Linked DNA regions of Homo sapiens: region 2 is linked to region 1. The links are contacts of gene promoters, found by promoter capture Hi-C in human tissues and cell types (Jung and others, 2019). All regions are on one chromosome and are shown on one strand. The core of a region is centred on a gene start or on the middle of the fragment in contact, and the rest is flanking DNA. Distances in the headings are between cores, read along the strand shown. Region 1 holds the start of LHFPL3 (LHFPL tetraspan subfamily member 3). Region 2 overlaps LHFPL3 (LHFPL tetraspan subfamily member 3).

Region 1 (4,980 bases), core at 591-3,090:
ACCTCCTCCAAATCCCTCTGATATTTATTTTGAAGACCTTCTGAGAGTCTACAACCACACTTGCTAGAAATTCTTACTCACTTAATCTTACATGTCTCATGCTACTGTTTAATTCTGTTCTCTTGATTTTCAAAGCTCTGTCTGATGGACCTTGTATTACAATGGACCTTGTATAAGATGGACCTTGTCTGATGGACATGTATTACAATACATGAATTACATGCCTATAGAAAAAACTGAATGGAAGATTCTGAAAACTCATGCTTTTAGATGCTTTCCCCAGTTTCAGCAGCAGCCCCTTCATTATCTTATGTGTCTCACACCCCTATTCCACTTTCTCCCCCTCCCTCTTCATAGAATCTCAAATCTTCAGACTATCAAATGAAAAGCATAATTTTCATCACTTAGGTTATGACCCTTCTACCATAGAATAGCCGTTGATATAGCCAATTAGGTAAGACTTAGGGTCCAATTCTATCAGAATTCTCTCTGATAGAAATGCTCAGAAAATTCTGTGATCATATGGTTCAAAACGATTTGTTACCAAAATCCACTCCTACAATTAAGCATTCTGGTTTCATGGCTGGGGGTGGGAGGCAGTTACATGTTTCTTTATATCAGAATCAGAAGGAAACAAACAAAAAAACCAACGGAAATAGGGAAATGCAGTTTGAAAAGTAGAAACTGTTAAAAGAGCAACAGAAAGACTGTTAAAAGGGAAAACATAAGCTAAGGAAACAGCACGAAGGGCAGGTGTACAACAGCAATGCCATGTGAAAATGTAAGGAATTCTATAGTGGTAATTCCGGGATAAATTAGCCTGAAAACAGCTCTCTGGTTAGCTTTGGGTTGTAGGGGGAGATGGAAGTTCCTGGACAATTAACCATCTGCTATGTCTTTTTGTACCCTTACCACCCAGCTCAGCGTCTGGGCACAGAGTAGCTGTCAATATTTGTATAGTAAGTGTAACACTGGCCGAACTACCCTGTTTTCAAACAAACTATAAAATTCTGTGACACAGTCCCTTCCAAGCACACACAGGCCCAATCTATGGAAGGAATTATCGGGGAAACGACCTAAAGGAAAGTATGGGGCATCCATTGGCTACAGTTCAGCTGGCTGCTTGGGGGAAAAACGCAAAGAGGACGCAAGCTCAGCTGTGCTTGATGTGAGACCACCCTTGAGATTTGTCTTTTACATTATTGTCTGCCAGGCTCCTGCGCAACTTCTATCTCCACCTGTGGACCTGAAGGCAACCGAGGAGTTAGCCAGGGGCAGTTCTGTGGTAACAAGAAAGACTCTTGGGGGCTGTATGCCTCCACTGCCTTGGCGCCTCTTGCCTGCAATTGCCGCGCTGCCCCTCGTGCCTCTGCAAAGATGCAGAGGTCGAAGCACGTTTCTGTGCGGTGATGAAATGCTCGCTGAATCAGCCTCTCGAGCCCGGCCTCTCACACCCACCAGGATCCTGGGGTTGTCTCTAGGATCCCTGTGGGTGCTCCTGCCACCTTCTTAGACTACCCTCGCCCTCCTAATCCAGGCCCACTTCTCTGGCTCATGTCCACCCCTTGATGGGCGTTCCGGGGTCGTCACTGTCCTCTGCGCCCCTGGGCACTGGCAGCGCGGGCCGGGCAGCGGGGAGGGAGGCGGGAAGCAGAGCGGGAGGCGCCCCGGGCTTGCGCGCCGCGGTGCTCCACGAGGGATTTGCCGCCTTCAGCTGCAGCAGCTGCAGCGGCGGCGGCGGGAAGAGGGGTGGAGGGTGGTGAGGAGGGCCGGAGCCCGGGCCAGGAGGGAGGGAGGGGAGCCGGGAGGCTGTGCCAGGCGAGCCGGAGGGGTGCTCCGCGCTCCCCCGCCCTCCTTCCGGGAGCGAGGATGCAGACTCTGAAACTGGTGCTGCTGGGCTGAGGCGGAGGCAGGGGAGTTGCAGCGCGCGAGGCTCCGTGAGTGTGTCTCCTGCGCGCTGAGAGGCGGGGGGAGGCGGAGGACCAGGAGGAGGAGGAGGAGGAGGAGGAGGGGGAGAATGCCCGGAGCCGCCGCCGCTGCCGCCGCCGCCGCCGCCGCGATGCTCCCGGCTCAGGAGGCTGCCAAGCTGTACCACACCAACTATGTGCGGAACTCGCGGGCCATCGGCGTGCTGTGGGCCATCTTCACCATCTGCTTTGCCATCGTCAACGTGGTGTGCTTCATCCAGCCCTACTGGATAGGCGACGGCGTGGACACCCCGCAAGCCGGCTATTTCGGGCTCTTCCACTACTGCATCGGCAACGGCTTCTCCCGGGAGCTGACCTGCAGGGGCAGCTTCACGGACTTCTCCACGCTGCCCTCGGGCGCCTTCAAAGCCGCCTCCTTCTTTATCGGCCTCTCCATGATGCTCATCATTGCCTGCATCATTTGCTTTACCCTCTTCTTCTTCTGCAACACGGCCACTGTGTACAAGATATGTGCCTGGATGCAGCTCACCTCCGGTGAGTGCGCGCTCACCTCCGCGGAGGCGGAGGACCCCGGGGCGCCCGAGCCGGGGAGGGGCCAGAGTGGGAGGGACGGGGGCTGTGCGCGCCGCTGCGAGCCAAGCCGCCTAATCCGCTCAGGCGTCGAGGTGTGGGGGGCGGGAGCCCAGCGAGGCCGGAACCCCCGGGGTTCCCCAGCCCCGGCGCTGGCGCCTCGTCCCGGGGCTTTCGTGAGCCTCCCAAGTGTGGGGGACGCCCACTCAGAGGGACGCCCCGGAGGCAGGGCGGTTGTGGGGCCGAGTCCGCTCAGAACTAAGGATGGTGGGTGGAGAAGTGGCCGCTTAGAGAGATGGGGCCGGGGTTCCGTGCTGAGGGACTAAGGAGGGACTGACAGGGCGAAGTGAAAAGCGGATTTGGAGAGGTCATAGTGGAAGGAGCAGCCAGCCTGCCCTGCCCCTCGCTGCTGGGACTATTTCTGTCATTGATCCTGGGAAAGGGGGCGGGGGGCGGTGGCTGGAGTGATACTGTTTCTTTCCATCCCGGGCAGTTAAATATGTTTACTCCTCCATCCGGAGGTGAAGAGATCTTAATTCTGTTTTGGGTTTCCCCTTGTAAGAAGAATGTAGCTTAGAACATTCTTTCGCAATTCCTCAATGTCAAGTCTTCAGTTTGCCTCCTTGTCCGTGCAAAGTTCCTTCCATTTCATCTTTAAACAGAAGTCTTTAGTAAATCAAGATTCCTCAAGATCTCATTTTTGGGAAGTGGCTTTGGGGAAGTAGGCAGAGAGGAGAATGTTTCATTAGCATCTCCGATCACTCTTTCCCTGTGGATGATAAATTGTTGCTAGCTGGAGGATATGAAAGTACTTTTTTTCTGTGCATCAAAGTTACTTTTAACCCAGAAAGGATGGGGTACATTTCCTGGTGACTTTGAAGAGTCCTGAAACAAAACTGACTCCTTGCTGTACTTCCCCTGATGGCGATTGCCTCTCTGCCAGCCAGCTTGGATGCCCTCCCTTCTAAAGTCAAGGGTCCAGTGGTCGTGACACATTTCTGTTCCAACATTGTTGAGGTCCTTTTGATTTTATGGATGGTCTGGTTGTAGAAGGGCACTGAATATCTTAGGCAGCTAAAGTTTTCATTTGCGTTTTCTTTTACTGTTCTCATTTTTAAGATGTTTCAAGATTTTGTCGTTTATTCTATTCCTGGGAAGGTTTTCTGGGGAGAGGGATTCAATCCCTGACAGAGTGTTGTAGGATGAGTAGATACTTAAAGGTGCTGGACAATAGCGTTAAGGTTCATAGTCCTATATTGCTAGTTTGATAAGGAAAGAGAAGCTTGTGGGAGACTACACTTGTGTGAAAGTATTTATTTTGTGTTTTGGCTCGCCTGATATTGATTTGCCATATATTGTAAAAGTGTGTATGTGAAAAGCAAGAAATGAGCAGCAGTAGAGACTCCCTCCTTTACACATACCATTATCTCCTGAACGGGGAGTTCTGCGTCTCCTTCTGCACCCCCATCCCCAACTTTTTCTAGCAATTCCTCACTCTATGTTTTTATATATAAAGTTAACTTTTATGGCCATTTCAAGCAGAATAACTAAGATTTGGAATAAATTCATGTATTATGGCTGTTCTTGACACTTAGCTCTGGTTTGACTTTGAAGAGGACACACACATGCAGATGCTGTAGAAAAAGAATTGACCCTGCACAGCTAATTTTAATTTTTCTAAGTTAAATGACCTATTTAGACAGGTGATTCAAATTACATCGTTTTTAAAAGGTCTGAAAATACTTTGCAGGTGCTTTCTCAACAACGTATTCTTCAATGTTTGATTTTTATGAGGTTTCCTACTCTAACCCCCCGCTTTTTGAAAGACAAAAAGAAAATGATCTTTGAGAAAGAAATACCAGCTTTGAAGTTAATACAAACTGCAACCATTACAAGGTTTTTTTGTTTTGTTTCGTTTTTCTCCTTTTCTCTTTCTGGAATAGAGCACAGAAAAATTGTCTGTCCTGGAGCAGTGAAATATAATGTTGTTCTCAGGCATTTGACATCAATGTTTATCCTGTTTTCCACGTCATGTAAAATGTGGGGATAGTTTTTGTACTAAAGATGTAAGGACATTTACTTCATTTTGGAGAAGTCCGGATCCTTAAGTGACATACTTTTTAAAACCTTTATTTGCAATTATTTGGCATTTTATTTCTAGGTAAACTATAGTACATGATTTTGTTCATTAGTGAAGTATATTAATAAAAGAAAAATTGATTCTGATGACAGGTCAAATAAGGATCTGTCACTCATTCACAGATTTTTAAGGAATAACATAGAAGATATTTCTAAACAATGTTACATTTAACATGGTTTTCAGGATTTTTCTAAAAAAATTAAGTCTCATTATACTAACAAAAAATTTAATATAAACTATTGTAAGTTACTTTGAAAGTTTAGTCTAGGCCGGGCGCAGTGGCTCATGCCTGTAATCTCAGCACTTTGGGAGGCTGAGGTAGGTGGATCATTTGAGGTCAGG
Region 2 (5,215 bases), core at 1,405-3,904, 490 kb after region 1:
ATATTGTTGGGTCATGTAAATAGCTGGTAACCTCAAAAAGAAAGCCAGGGAAGTGATGGTCATAAAAGTGTTATGGGATCTTTGGGGTACCATTTTTCTGGTCGGAAAACTCTGTGGCTAGTGGCACCTTTGCCTGAGTTTTGCTTGTGCCCACTGGGCTTGTTTCACCCACTTGGCCTGGCAGGCTGTGCTGGGTTCATGCTACTAGCCTGGGTCCCATGCCTGCTAAGGGTGAGTCAGGCATGGAATGGCGAGAGGTGTGTGAGTGAGTGTAGGGTCCAGCCACTGTGCACAGTCAGACATGCTGGCTGCTGCAGCAGGGAGGGCAACTCCAGGTTCCAGCACAGGTGCCAGCTTTCTATGAGGCTGTGGCCAGACCAGCAGATGTCAGATGATCAGCTGCAAAGAGGAGAAACCCACAAGCAGCTTCCACAGCTGGCATCAGAGAACACGGTGGTGCCTGAAAGCTTGGAGATGCCAGGAATTGCAGGGCCTCAAAGAAGGAGTCATAGCCCTGACTTGGGGAGCTCCCAGGTTTGGGTTCCCCAAAGGACCACAGCTCTTCTTTCCTTCTCTTCACCCGCAACATAGGAAGCAAGAGGCATGTCTCAGCCCTGTTTGTGTTACAGCTCTTTTAGCCTCACCATTCAGTGGGTCCCAAGTTCTTGTCCTGCAACCAGAAAGAATGAGGTATGCAGACAAGTGGAGGGTGAGCAAGATGAAGAGGAGCTTTACTGAGCAATAGAACAGCTCAGAGGATGCCTGCAGGGAGCAGCTCCTTTCCACAGCCATGGTGTCCTGATAAGTGTTCGGCTCCTAGCAGAGGGTAGCTCCTCTCTGCTAGGCAAGTCATCCCAACAAGTGTTCAGCTATCAGCAGAGAGGGTAGCTCCTCTCTGCAGCTGGTTGTCCCATCATCTGCACAGCTCTCAGCAGTGGAGGAAGCCCTAGAGTGGGTGGCTCCTCTCTGCACCTGGTCGACTCATCATCTCCCTATCATCTCTCCATCGTCTCTGCAGCTCTGAGCAGAGAGGAGGCCCTGGAGTGGGTTGCTCCTCTTTGCAGCTGATCATCTGACATCTGCTCAGCTCTGGCTGATCCCAGAGCTTTTAAGGGCCTCAAAGGGGAAGAAGTGCATGCTGATTGGTCCCACCCAGAAAAGGCACTACAAGTTTCTACTCAGGTCCACGGAACTGGCAGCCTGACTCCCAGCCTTCAGGTCCTCCCTGGCCTGAAGGTGGGGCCTCACTGGGGACCTGCCCCGTTCCACCCAGGAACCTGTCTGCCTCCCTCTGCCTTTCATGACATCCAGGCTATAGGTGCCAAGCGGCACCTATAGGTCAGCACCAAGCTTCCCTCATCTCACCCTCAGCTTTCCTCCTATGCTCGTCAGTGCCCAAATTCCAGAGGGGGCAGATGCAGCAGGGTGCTGGCGTGTCAGCACTGCCCCAAGTGTGTGCACGCTCGACTGGGCTGCGGCAGTGGCCGGGCTGGGTCCTGACTTTACTCTGAGATCAGAGCAGGTGCCGACAGCAGGGAGAAACCAGGCGGCGGGAGCAGGCACTTTCAAGCCTGCAAGGGCAGGGGTGCCTTCCCAGACCCCCAGTAGTGCAGGGATGCCTGGGTCCATAGCTGCAGTTTGGGGCAGCTGCAGCTGCGCCTGGGCTCCCACCTGCTCTATGGAGCAGGAGGCCCAGGTCTGCAGCCATGGTTTGGGTGGCTGCAGCTATGCCCAGGAAAGTGGGACTCCCGCCTGCCCCCCAACCCCGAGAGCACGAGGATGCATGGGTCCATAGCCATGGCTTCCACAGCTACAGAGCCACCCAGGGAGCTCCCACCCCAACTTAGAAGGGGTGGGGCTCCCACTTGTCCCAGCTCTTGCTGGCTCCATGGAGCGAACAGCCCCCACCCCGCCTCCCTGCTGCAGCCGGCATGATGGCAGGGGCAGCTCCAGACGGCCTGCTGCTGCCATCAAGTCAGTGAATAGTGATTACCCCCAGCAGGAGAAGGGCATATGGCTGGGGAGGGACATGTGGGGTTTCCAGGATACTGGCAATGTCCTATTTCTTGAGCTGGCTGGCGGTTACACAGTGCTCACTTTATAATTCTGTGTTAAACTGTGCCTTTGTATTTTGTGCACTCTTCTGAATGTGTGTCTTATTTCAAAAATCAAATTCTTAAAAAGATAAGAAGACCACTTGAGCAGTGATATGGGGGAACCTAAATCTGTACATTTTAAGTTTTTCATTACAATGATTTACCCAAAGGGACAAAGAATTCTTCCAGTTCCACCTTTTTCTCCTCCGTTCAGAGGTTCTAACTAAATGCCACTTCTCTCTCAGATAGCCCTTTCTTTTAAGTCAGCCCAGATCTCCCCTGTGCCTACCACCACCCCACCCCACACAGTAGAGTCTCATGCCCTGGATTCTCTTCTGGATCTGGTCATCTCATGGCAGGCTGCACACATGGCTTATTGGGAGACACAGGAAAGTTGTGAACTGCCTCGTGTGAGTACTAGGGCAAAGAAGCTCAAAGGTAGGAATTCTCAAGGTCCCTCCCCCTTTCCCCTTTGAAGAATGAGGGATTCATGCATGGAACTGCTTTGCTCATTCAGAATGACAGACCAAACCCCTCCTTCCTGTAGCTGACCACCACATTCCATATAGACCAGCACCCCTTGGCACAATGAGAATTAGCCTCATTGTGTGCTTTCTGTCACCTATTCTAGGACACTCTGCAGCAGCCTTGACCTTCATTATGAGTTCAAGATGAAGATCCCATCCCAAAAGAACAACTTGAAGAACTGCGCCCTGTGAAAAAAATGCTGTCGTTGTTGTTGTTTTACAGCAACAGCATTTGCCAGTAGATTCCAAGCTTTTTCCATAATTAGGCCCACTTGGGGCAAAAAGAATCAATCTAGGTAAAAATCATATCTAAAAATCTCATACCTATTACAGAAACCTAGTTTCCTTTTAGCTTAGCAGGATTCCATCCTGCTACCCAGGATTTGAGGCTCTGCACTAAGCTTCAGGGATGCAAGAACCACTATGCTGGCTCCTGAGATTGCTTCATAAAAGGATGCATTTACCAAAGATAATCAGATAGTTTATACAAAGCATAAGTGTGAGCTCTACCTTGAACCCATTCTATTTTCTTGGATTCTAAATCCTCACCTTTGGTCTTAATTTTAGTCCTCTATGGTAACCATGGTTTCAGAATCCTTCTTTCAATTACTATCAGCAGTTGCATAAAGGAGATGTTGGCTTTAGTCTCTTAAGCCCCATCTGAAATTTCTGCAGTGGTTTGGGAGCAACTCACTTTTAAAGTGAACTTCAGATCCTGCTTTCAAAGGCACACAGTGGCTGTCAGAGCTGAGCAGTTTCATTTTCAGGCCACTCAACGTGGCAAAGAGCTCAGGTCTAAACAGCCTTTGCCCAGGTGTGGAACCATCTCACCTTGCCTGACTTAACTCCTCCCTGCTGGCCTCCTAGCCTCGGGCTGCTTTAACTCCATTGTATTTGTCAAGAAAATGCATTTTCCAAGCCTGCCTCATGAACCTTGTGTCTTCTGGGTTTCCATAATCCTCTGGGTTAAGCACACACTTCTGACTGTGACCACCTTAACTTCTGAACTGCTAGCTCTTCCAGTCATTCTGGGGCTCCCCTGCAAACCTTCTTTGCTTCTCCCCCTCTTTCCACCCAGGCAAATTCTTCAAGGCCCATCCCACACACCCTGGCCTTCCTAGCCCACAAGGATCTCTCCCTGCCTCTGCCTATCTACACACTTTATTGGAGTATTCCTTGGTATTGCTATTTATCTTTGCTCAGCGCGGGCTACGTTGCCAGTCTTCGTTATAATTTCCCTGAGGGCAAACCCTGTCCAGTATCCTGTGTGCCCATATTGTGCCTATCCAGTGCTGGGCAGTCAATATTTATGTGTTGAGCAAAGGCTCAACCTCAGATTTTTTTCAACCTCACCCCATTTCATTCAGCCCACAAGGGCCTCCTCCCTTTTTCTCCTCATCTAATTCAGCTTCTCAAACTGCTGCCTTGACCCAGCCCAGAAAACAGCAGGGTTTTCTTGTTCATTGGGAAGTTTTCTCATGTAAACACCACATCTTTAAACAACCTTCCCCTTCAATACAGTCTCTGGCATTCATCCTTTTGCAAGTCTCCTAAACGCTTATTTGATTGTGTTTAGGTCCATAGCATACTCTTTACTTTGTTCATCTCTCTCACACTGGTAGATAGCTGAGGACAAAAACAACATCTATGCTTCATCATAGAGCCCTGAGGCCCTCACATCCCTGGGAACTCAGGGGCCTTTCCTGATTTGACGATTGACAATTCTAGGTACAGGACCACAGAAGCCTCCTCCCTCAGACAGTACTACTTCACTGATTCTAATCCCATACAAACCCCCATGGCCACACCATGATACCCTCCTTCTCCACACAGTCCCTCCCTCATACCACATCATCAACTGTCTTTTGAAATCCTCCCATTGCTGACTGATCATAAAGTCTTTAGGCAAACACTATTCCGATACCTAGCACCAGGACTTCTGTTGGCTATTTAATTGTAGGTTAATTAAAATTAAGTACCATTCATTTCCAATGTAGTTGCACTAGCTACATTTCAAGTGCTCCATAGGTACACGTGACTAGTGTCTACCGTATTGGACAGCACAGATACAGAACATTTCCGTCACACAAAGGGCTCTTGGGCAGTGCTGACTTAGAGCAAGCAAGAGAAGTAAGAGGAATCGGAAGGATTTATTGAGCCAGCAAGGATCATCTAGTTTATTTCAAAGCTCTTAGGAATGAGTGTACTTAAATGCTTCAGAGAAATATGGTGGTTCATTTTCCTGTTCTATTTTATTTTCTATCAGTTTCAAGAAGTGTCTCTTTACCACCCTCTAGGTAACCTATTGAAATTGTCACAATCAACATGGGCAGGAAGTTGTCTCTAAAGTCTAATCTTGTTTGTGGAATTCTTTGCCCACCTAAGGCAACTGACTTTAAGGCAACTGGCTTGGGCACTTCTCTCATTAAAAAAAAAAAAAAAAACAGGCACGTACCTGTAGTCCCAACTACTCGGGAGGCTGAGACAGGAAAATCGCTTGAACCTGGGAGGCGGAGGTTGCAGTGAGCAGAGATCGTGCCAAATATCTATCTTCTTGGTGTTTTAATTTCCATTATTACAGTTTCAGTTTTA

Evidence for each region. Contacts are between HindIII fragments. The study calls those that stand out against the background at their distance.
Region 2: a fragment that was not itself captured here is called in contact with the fragment with the promoter of LHFPL3 in region 1 in 1 of the 25 tissues and cell types used here (mesendoderm cells).

What each region holds. Positions count from the first base shown.
Region 1 is chr7:104,326,763-104,331,742 of GRCh38, forward strand. It overlaps LHFPL3 (LHFPL tetraspan subfamily member 3), which reads left to right and starts at 1,841. Exons shown (of 3, transcript NM_199000.3): 1 at 1,841-2,462. The coding sequence starts at 2,018. The HindIII fragment of the contact is 20,464 bases long and covers 1-4,980 here.
Region 2 is chr7:104,813,338-104,818,552 of GRCh38, forward strand. The region is part of intron 2 of LHFPL3 (LHFPL tetraspan subfamily member 3); the gene reads left to right. Among named protein-coding and RNA genes, the nearest start is that of LHFPL3-AS1, 12 kb to the left of the region's middle. The HindIII fragment of the contact is 3,492 bases long and covers 909-4,400 here.